Regions from separate parts of the Homo sapiens genome. Here regions 1 and 3 are each linked to region 2. The links are contacts of gene promoters, found by promoter capture Hi-C in blood cells and fetal thymus (Javierre and others, 2016). All regions are on one chromosome and are shown on one strand. The core of a region is centred on a gene start or on the middle of the fragment in contact, and the rest is flanking DNA. Distances in the headings are between cores, read along the strand shown. Region 1 holds the start of DEFB119 (defensin beta 119). Region 2 holds the start of DEFB123 (defensin beta 123). Region 3 holds the start of LINC00028 (long intergenic non-protein coding RNA 28).

Evidence for each region. The method cuts DNA at HindIII sites, captures the fragments that hold promoters and counts their contacts. A CHiCAGO score of 5 or more calls a contact.
Region 1: the fragment with the promoter of DEFB119 here is called in contact with the fragment with the promoter of DEFB123 in region 2 in 2 of 17 cell types (M1 macrophages and naive CD8 T cells); the score reaches 6.3 in M1 macrophages.
Region 3: a contact is called between a fragment that was not itself captured here and the fragment with the promoter of DEFB123 in region 2, in 1 of 17 cell types (M1 macrophages). The highest score is 5.7, in M1 macrophages.

Annotation. Positions count from the first base shown.
Region 1 is chr20:31,389,148-31,391,863 of GRCh38, reverse strand. DEFB119 (defensin beta 119) reads left to right here and starts at 1,274. Exons shown (of 2, transcript NM_153289.4): 1 at 1,274-1,441. The coding sequence starts at 1,381. The HindIII fragment of the contact is 16,203 bases long and covers 1-2,716 here.
Region 2 is chr20:31,439,175-31,441,909 of GRCh38, reverse strand. It overlaps DEFB123 (defensin beta 123), which reads right to left and starts at 1,278. Exons shown (of 2, transcript NM_153324.4): 1 at 1,154-1,278. The coding sequence starts at 1,211. The HindIII fragment of the contact is 4,618 bases long and covers 818-2,735 here.
Region 3 is chr20:31,484,713-31,487,649 of GRCh38, reverse strand. REM1 (RRAD and GEM like GTPase 1) reads right to left here. Exons shown (of 5, transcript NM_014012.6): 5 at 2,755-2,937. It overlaps LINC00028 (long intergenic non-protein coding RNA 28), which reads right to left and starts at 1,872. Exons shown (of 4, transcript NR_024358.1): 1 at 1,627-1,872; 2 at 455-618; 3 at 291-368; 4 at 76-174. The HindIII fragment of the contact is 5,037 bases long and covers 1-2,937 here.

The DNA of each region.
Region 1 (2,716 bases), core at 25-2,524, 50 kb after region 2:
GGGGAATATCAGTTAAAACAGTTGAATAAGTATCTTAATACACCAGGTGATGTTATGGGTACTGGGGTTATAAGCCAGGTTTCTGACATTCTAAGTGGAGAGACAAAAATCAAACATGTAAAATAAAATTTAAAAGAATAGATACATATATGAAGATCATAAACCAAGTTATTACAGTCCAGAGTGACTGTGGGTTGGAGTTACCGTTATCTAAGGTGGCCAGGGAAAGTCTCTCCAAGGAGGTGACATTTGGGATGATATGGAATGATGAGCAGGAGATTTTCATGGGAAGATTTGGAGAAAGAGCTTTACAGGGAGAACAGATGACAACTGCTAAGGCCCTGAACTGGAAACAAGATTGGCAAGTTCAAAGTTCTGAAAGACATTACACATGTGTATCCTTCTGTTAGAAAGCTGAGACACATGTGTATCCTTCTGTTAGAAAGCTGAGAATAAGTAATTCTCGTTTAATTTATTTTTTAAAATTTTTTTATTTTTATTTTCGAGATGGAGTTTTGCTCTGTCACCTAGGCTGGAGTGCAATAGCGTGATCTCAGCTCACTGCAACCTCTGCCTCCCAGGTTCAAGCAATTCTCCTGCCTCAACCTCCCTAGTAGCTGGGATTACAGGCACCTGGCTAATTTTTGTATTTTTAGTAGAGACGGGGTTTCACCATGTTGGCCAGGCTGGTCTCGAACTCCTGACCTTGTGATCTCCCTGTCTTCGCCTCCCAAAGTGCTGGGATTACAGGTGTGAGCCACCACACCTGGCCTGTTTAATTTAGTTTTTAAGATTTAAATATCTTTTAAACATTTATAGGAAAAAATATATTTTAAAACAGAACATAATCATGGAGAACAATATTGTCACCAAACATGACAAGACAGTTAATATAATAACAGCACTGAAGAGCTCTTGCAAATCAGCAAGTACCCAACAACACCCCAATAGAATTGTCCAGATATCTGACTAAATAATTCAAAAGGAAGAAACAAAGAGACAAATACATGTGTTGAATAAATGTTCTTACTATTTATCAGAGAAGTGCAAAGTAATTTTTAAGTTAAATATTTCTTGATATGTATTTATTATGCATTAATTAATTCCTTTGTGGGTCTCACAGGCCAAATGGCTTTAATTGACCTGTCCCTTTACTGGCATTGGTACTGGCCAGTTTCCCACACTCTCATCTTGTGCTTTGCTGAGACATCTGCTACACACTGTCCTTTGGCCTGGATGACCTCATATAAATCCCCTCCTGTTCTAATTCACTGCCCACAGCCCTGCTGATAAAAGCAAAGCTCATCTCTGCCGTGCTGCAGGGAACCCTATTTCCTTCCCCTGCAGCTCAGCCACCTCCTCCTCTCAGGTCTGCCAGCCATGAAACTTCTTTACCTGTTTCTTGCCATCCTTCTGGCCATAGAAGAACCAGTGATATCAGGTAACGTGAACCTCTCTCGGGGGTCTGGGTTCCTGGTCATGGGCTTCCCGTCTTTCCCTTCCCTCTCACTGTGGGCATCATCTGAAGCCTTTCCTTCTCTCCTGCAGCTTCGGGAGGTTTGCCCAGGATCATCTCAAGTTAATATCTCTCTCTGATTCTTTTTTGCCAGAGTGGTGGGATGATAGATGTTTGGAGCATCTGGTGCTTGAGGGCCAGGGTGGTATCCTGGTGGGAGCTTGGGAGAGGTTTGAGGGGCAAAGCGTGGGTGCAGGTTGGGGACTTGTTGAGGACTTCGGGAGACTAGAGTGGAAGCTGGGGTGAGTTGTGATGTGGAGGAAAAACCTTGGGATTGGAGTGATAGAAGGAATATTAGGATGAGCTGGAGGTGAGGAGCTGGGCTTCCCTGATGGTTTAGGGCAGAGTTGGAGACAGGATGGGATTTGGGGTTGAGTGGAGCTGGTGTTGAGGATTAGGCTGGGGCTTGGGCTGAGGCTGGGAGTCGGTGCTGGATGCTGCAGGGTGATTGGGTTCAGCTTGGTCATGGCATACTGCTGGGAATTGAGGTTAGTGACTTGATTAGATTAGGGTTAGATTAGATTAGATTAGGGTTTGGCTTGGAGTTGGGGCTTGGGGGCATTGAGTTGAGTAAGGCTGGGAGTTCTAATTAAGGCAGGCCTGAATGAGTTTGAGTTTGAATTGGGTTAATATAGGGTCAAGGAAGATTGCAGATTGGGATGCGGCTGGAGCTGAGGCTTGTTGGGCTTATGTGAAATAGGGTCAGGTTATTGATAAGAAACAGGGTCTGTGTAATGTGAGTGAATCCTCTTCGTTCCCTAATATTACAGGTGATCATGTCCTTTTCCCTTCATCCCTAGCTCTGCTAGGTGGGACATTAATTAGCTTCAGTTGATTCCAAAGTAAGGAGTAGGAAGTTGGGGGCTAGGAAGACAGAAGGGTGAGAAGTCCAAAAAAGGCTCTCCCAAAAACTTCGGAGCTCTCAGTTGGAACCATTGTCTCAGTTCTCTTCCCTCTCAAGGTCTCTTCTCTCTTTTCCTGGGACTGGGTCTGGCATTACTCACTCAGCTGGCTTTCTTCTCTTCTTCCCTGTCCTCCTGTTCCTCCTCTGCCTTGTCTTTTCTCTCCGCTTGAGGGATACTAACATCTGCTTAATTGTTGTTCATATGCCCCAAAGTAGAGTGTTGGATGGATGGACACTGCCGGTTGTTGTGCAAAGATGGTGAAGACAGCATCATACGCTGCCGAAATCGTAAACGG
Region 2 (2,735 bases), core at 29-2,528:
GCAGTTTGAGAAATGAGGAAATTGATACTCTGAGCAGCTGAGCTTCTTGTTGGGGCTCACAGAGTCAGAAAATGATGGGGCAGGTTTTAACCCGGGGTCTGGGCTTTCCTCCCTACTCCAGGTGAGTGGTGTTTTAGGGCCTCAGGAAGACACAAGGACGGAGGTCAGCTTGTTTAGGAAATTCACACGTTTCTGACTCTGTAGAAAGGTTAGCCGACAGCCTTAGGGTGGGTGGAAACTTCTGCCAGATGAGCAGGAAGGGATAGGTGGCTCATGCTGGAATTGGTGGGTGGTAGGTCTGACCAGGGTCTTTCTCTGTTTAAACCTTCCCATGGGTCCCTCACCTGGCATTTGAGGCCCACTGAGACCTGGAGCTTGAATGCTTCCTCAGCTTTACCCCCGCCTCTCTCCTAACCCACCCCTCCATGTTATGCAGGTCCCCGACACTCCCATGCTCTCTCCCGCATCCAACCTTTGCATAGGCTGACCTCTCTGCCTGGGACACCCTTCTGCTTTCCCCTCTCCTTCCTTTTCTATTTTCGACTCACTTTTTAGGACTCAGGATATCCCTCCAGGAGGACTCTCCTTTCCCTCAGCCTGGGCTGGACCATGTGTACCCAGCCCCCTGGTTTCCCACTGCCACAGCCGTGTCACCCTGGGTTATAAATGCTATTTAACTGTCTCCTCCAGTTAGTTCCCCTGGCACCATGTCATTTATCTCCGTGGTCCTAGCTTCCAGCGCAGAGTCTGGCACAGAGACAGCTAAGTACAAATGAGCTTTCTCTCCCATTAAGGTAGCTGTGATCTTCACAAAGCTTCGTTCATTCTGGGGACTATTTTGCAAAAGGGCCATACCTGCCTCTCCTCTTTCCTGCTTCTCTTGCTCACCCCTCCCACTCCTCCTCACACACTAGGCCACCCCCACATGCTCCCTGGAGCTGGGCAGGAAGAGGAGGGATGGAGCCGCTGAGAGAGCAGCTCTGGATGTTGTAGTTGTCATCTATCAGCTGGCACCTGCTGCTGGTGAGGCGCCTCCTGCCTCCTATACGTGGTGCTAGATGACAACCTGCAGCCCATCCTTCTAGCCCTTGGGATTCTCTGACCAGGCCTTAGTCTCTAAGCCCTGCCCCTTCCTTAAGGAGGTTCAGGTTACCTGGAGTCAGCTGGGATAAGAGCAGCAGCACAGTCAAAGTCAGCAAAAGGAGCTTCATGGCTAAGGCAGCCCAAAATGAAGCTGCAAGTCCGATGCCACGGCTGAGCTAATGGGAGAAGGAGAGTGCCTGGCCTGTGGCTCGCACTCCCTCAGCTGCCCACGGGTACAGCCCTCACACTCTGACTGGACACCCCTCCCTTTGTCATTTAGGTCAGCAGGGAGAGGACAGCCAACAAGGTCCAGGGCCCAAGACTTAATATACTACCCGTTCCTTCCACCCAGCTCCAAACTGCCTGAACCCAGTGACCAGCAGGAGGCGCCACAAACACCGGCTCCGGAAGGTCAGGGAAGACGGCAGAGTTTTGAAGAATAAATACAAAGCAACAGGTAGATGAGCTGAAATGGGGTTCCAGGTGGAGGAATGTCTGTACAAAGGCTCATGTTGGTGTTGAAAATGAGAAATATGACATAACCAGAGCAAAAACTGAGAGGAAAACGGCAGAAAGAGATGAAGCTCCGAGCACCAGCCTGTCTGTCACAGCCCCCTGCTGGGTTCTAACATGCGGTGGCCCTCCCCCTAGGGTCATCCTTCCGCTTCCTCAGAGATCTGAGAACCAACCACTCAGAATCCTTCTTCTGAACTCGGGTTTTGAAAACTCATTCTTGGCCGGGCACGGTGGCTCACGCCTGTAATCCCAGCAGTTTGGGAGGCCAAGGTGGGTGGATCACTTGAGGTCAGGAGTTCGAGACCAGCCTGGCCAACATGGTGAAACCCCATCTCTACTACAAATACAAAAAGTAGCCAGGTGTGGTGGTGCATGCCTATAATCCCAGCTACTTGGGAGGCTGAGGCAAGATAATCGCTTGAACCTGGGGAGGCTGTGGTGAGCCGAGATCGCGCCACTGCACTCCCGACTGGGCGACAGAGCAAGACTCTGTCTCAGAAAAGAAAAGAAAAGGCATCTCTTTCCTTTAGTTCCCTCAGCCCTCGGGTGGTAGCTGCATCCTGTAGTTACTGTTTCTCTGACTGGACCCTGCTTGAAACAGATGTCAAGGGTATAATAGCATACAGAGGGATTACAAGGGAAAAACAACAACAACAACAACAACAGTGAAAGCCATTTCTGTAGGGGCAGAAAACAGTCAATGGGGTTGAAAACTGAAAGGTAAGTGAAACAGTGAGGTCAGCAAGTGTAAATAATTCTTTCTAAAACCCTTACAATGAAGAGAAGAAGAGACACTGGCTAGGAAGGGACTCAGTGGAAAGCCTGGAAGTCCACCTTTCCTGTGCTGTTCATTTTTGGTAAGGAGGCTCATTTCATTTCTTTTTTTTTCTTAATTTTAAAAACTATTTTTTATCTTTTTGTTTTTGTTGTTGTTTTGGATACAGGGTCTTGCTCTGTTGCCCAGGCCTGGAGAAATAATGTATCTGTTGGATTCTTTTCTCCCTAAAAGAAGAGATTTTCCCACTGCCTGAAATGCCAGGATATATGGAGGATTTTTGTATTGAGAGTGACAGCAGAGTTGAAAATATTGGGTAACTAGTCCTGACACTGCTACTAGCTTTCTATGTGACCTTGGA
Region 3 (2,937 bases), core at 407-2,906, 45 kb before region 2:
GTACCCAGCATGTAGCATGGGGCCCAACATTAACACAGAGAAACAGTTAAAACAAAGTTAGCTATTTTTTTTTTTGGTTTTGTTTTTATGGATGAGAAAGTACTTTTTAAACTATAATAGGCTGAGGAAGAGTGTGGTTTTCTCACATGCTTTCCATTCCTTATTCACAGACACCTAGAATCAGAGAGGACAGGATTGGAAGGGCCACTTTACAGGTAATGGATAATGAATTAATGGATATCTATTAATGGATAATGAATTAATTCATTCAACAAATATTTACTGAGCACCTATTATGAGCCAGGCACTGTTGTAGGTGCTGGGATCAGAGCAGCACTGAGGGCCCTTCCCTCAAGGAGCTTTCATTCCTGTGGGGCAGACAGACAAAAACATGTGAATACATATGCCAGGCAGAGACTCATAAGCAGGTCTTCACAGTCTCAGAATATCTTACCTTTAACAAATCCTGGTTTCTGCAAGGCCTTAAGATATGATAGCAGGGTGAGACCCAGTGGCTCATGCCTGAAATCTCAGCACCTTGGGATGTTGAGGTGGGAGCATCTCTTGAGCTCAGGAGTTTGAGACCATCATGGGCAACACAGCAAAACTTTGTCTCCTCTAAAAATTAAAAAAAAAAAAAATTAGCTGGGCATAATGGCATGTGCCTGTAGTCCCAGCTACTTGGGGTGCTGAGGTGGGAGGATGGCTTGAGCCTGGGAGGTGGAGGCTGCAGCGAGCTGTGATCGCGCCACTGCATTCCAGCCTGGGCAACAGAGTGAGACCCTGTTTTTTTTTTTTTTTTAAAAAAAGAAGATATGCTAGCGGGAGCCCACATTTATTGAATCTTCTTAGACACGGAAAGTGTCTTAAGCATTTTACACAACTTGAATCATTTAATCCTCACATCGACCCTAAAGGAAAGAATTGTCATGAATCCTGTTTTATAGATGGAGAAACTAAGGCATGGAGAGATGGAGGGGAGCGGGGTTTGAACACACACCCCCTGGTTCAGGGCAGTGCCCTCAATCACCCTGCCATCTTGCCGTGCTAGCTGCATAACTCTCCTTCCCTCAACACCTCCCACCTTCCCATCTTGGTCTGCACCAGTTCTTTCTTCCCTCCCCCTTTCCTCCCTTATCCCGTTCTCAAGTATTTCTTCCACATTCTGAGTAGCCTGGGGTAAGCTCTCTCTCTCTCTCTCTCTCTCTCTCTCTCTCTCTCTCTCTCTCTCTCTCTCTCTCTGTCTCTCTCTCTCTCGCCCTCAGTTTTCCTATCTGAGGATGGAGGATTGGACTGGATTATCTTCAGGTCCTTCCCTGACCACTCTAATTTTCAGCTCCTTATAAGTTTGTGATTCTTTTATTTGCTGATTTGTTTTCTAGTCTCCCAGCCCACCCTACTGTGAGCTACCGAGCAGTGAGCTCCCTCTTTCTGTTCACCACATCTCCCCAGAGCCTGGCACTGTGCCCGGCACTTAGTAGGCCCTCAATAAATACTTGTAGATGAAGAAAGGAGGGGATGAGGGCGATTGTACTCAGTTTTCTAAAGCCAGCTCCTGCACTGTCTCCCTGGCCCCTCTTCTTTTCTCAGCTCTTCCCCCTCCCCACTTCCCTCCCGCCCTCTCACCTCCCAGGGCCCACTCCGGCCCTCCATCCGGCCTGCATTTTTCCGGGTTTGATATCATTTTTTCCACTCTCCCGGCTGCTGCCGGCCGCCTCTGCCAACTTTCCACAGCTAGAGCCCCTCCCCCTGACCGCAGGCCGGAGACAGCTTGGGGTGGGGGAAGACCTTCCTTCTTTTCCCTTCCCCAGGCTGGGGTTGGGGTGTGGGAGTGAGTGCCATCCATCCCCGTTGGAAGGCTGGGGTGCGGGGATTCGCGGCTGGAGGACGCTGCTGGCTGGCTGGCGGGTGCTGCGGTCTTTCTCTGCACCGCGTCCCCCGGGGCTGGGGCGTCTGGGATAGTTGGGGGAAGGGATGTCCGGCGTCAGGGACACGATGGTCCAAACGGTTTGCGTCTTGTTTTCTTCTCAAAGCAGTGACACCCCTTCCCTTCGGGCTGGAAACTCCTGACCTGATCCCCAACACCCAGCCCTGACCCCAGCCAGGCTGGACGCCTCACCACCTCCTTCCTCCCGCACAGCCAAAGGGAGACCCAGGAGGAGGCTGGGCCCTGGGGTGTAATCCTCCCTGGCTGGGTGACTCTGGCATGCTCACCTCCCCTCTCTAGGCTTGTTTCTGCCTTCGGGAAATGAGTGAGTTGGATTAAACTGGGGTCCATCCCGGGGATTAATGCATTGAGTTTCATAGAGCTCCTGCCCCAACCTCCTTTAAATTGGATGCGAAATTATGTTTTTAAATTCGTTTTGCCAAGATTCTATAGGGTTTTGTATCATGTTTAAAGTGGACAATGGATATGTTGGTCACTAGAGTCTGACAAGCCTGGGCTGGAATCCCGGCAACTTCGCGTATAGCAGCTGTATGATCTTGGGTGAGCCTTCGGTGTCCTCTGCCTCAGTTTACTAACGAGCAAAATGGGGTTAATCGGAAACCCTTCTCCCAGGTGTTGGGAGGAATAATTGTTGTGACAGCTTAGTACACAGCTCCCAACAAACGCCAGCAATTCTATTGCCAGGATGAGTACTGAGGTCCTTCCAGACATGTGAATCTAGAACGTAAAACATGGGTTAATGAGAAAGTAGCTGGTCACGGAACTGTGGTTGTGATCCACTGTTGAGAGAAGGGCCTGAGCACAAAACTGGTCCAAGTACTTTATTGATGCGCCCTGACGCCCAGGCCAGCAGGCCAGACCAGTCTACAGTCAAGTGTAGATGGGAGGGCAGTAGGTGGAGACGCCTGGAAGAGCCGAGATGGAGAGGTCTGGGCATTCAGATGGGACATCCTTCTGGTCTGGTTTATTGTGAGGGTTTCTGAGGGTTG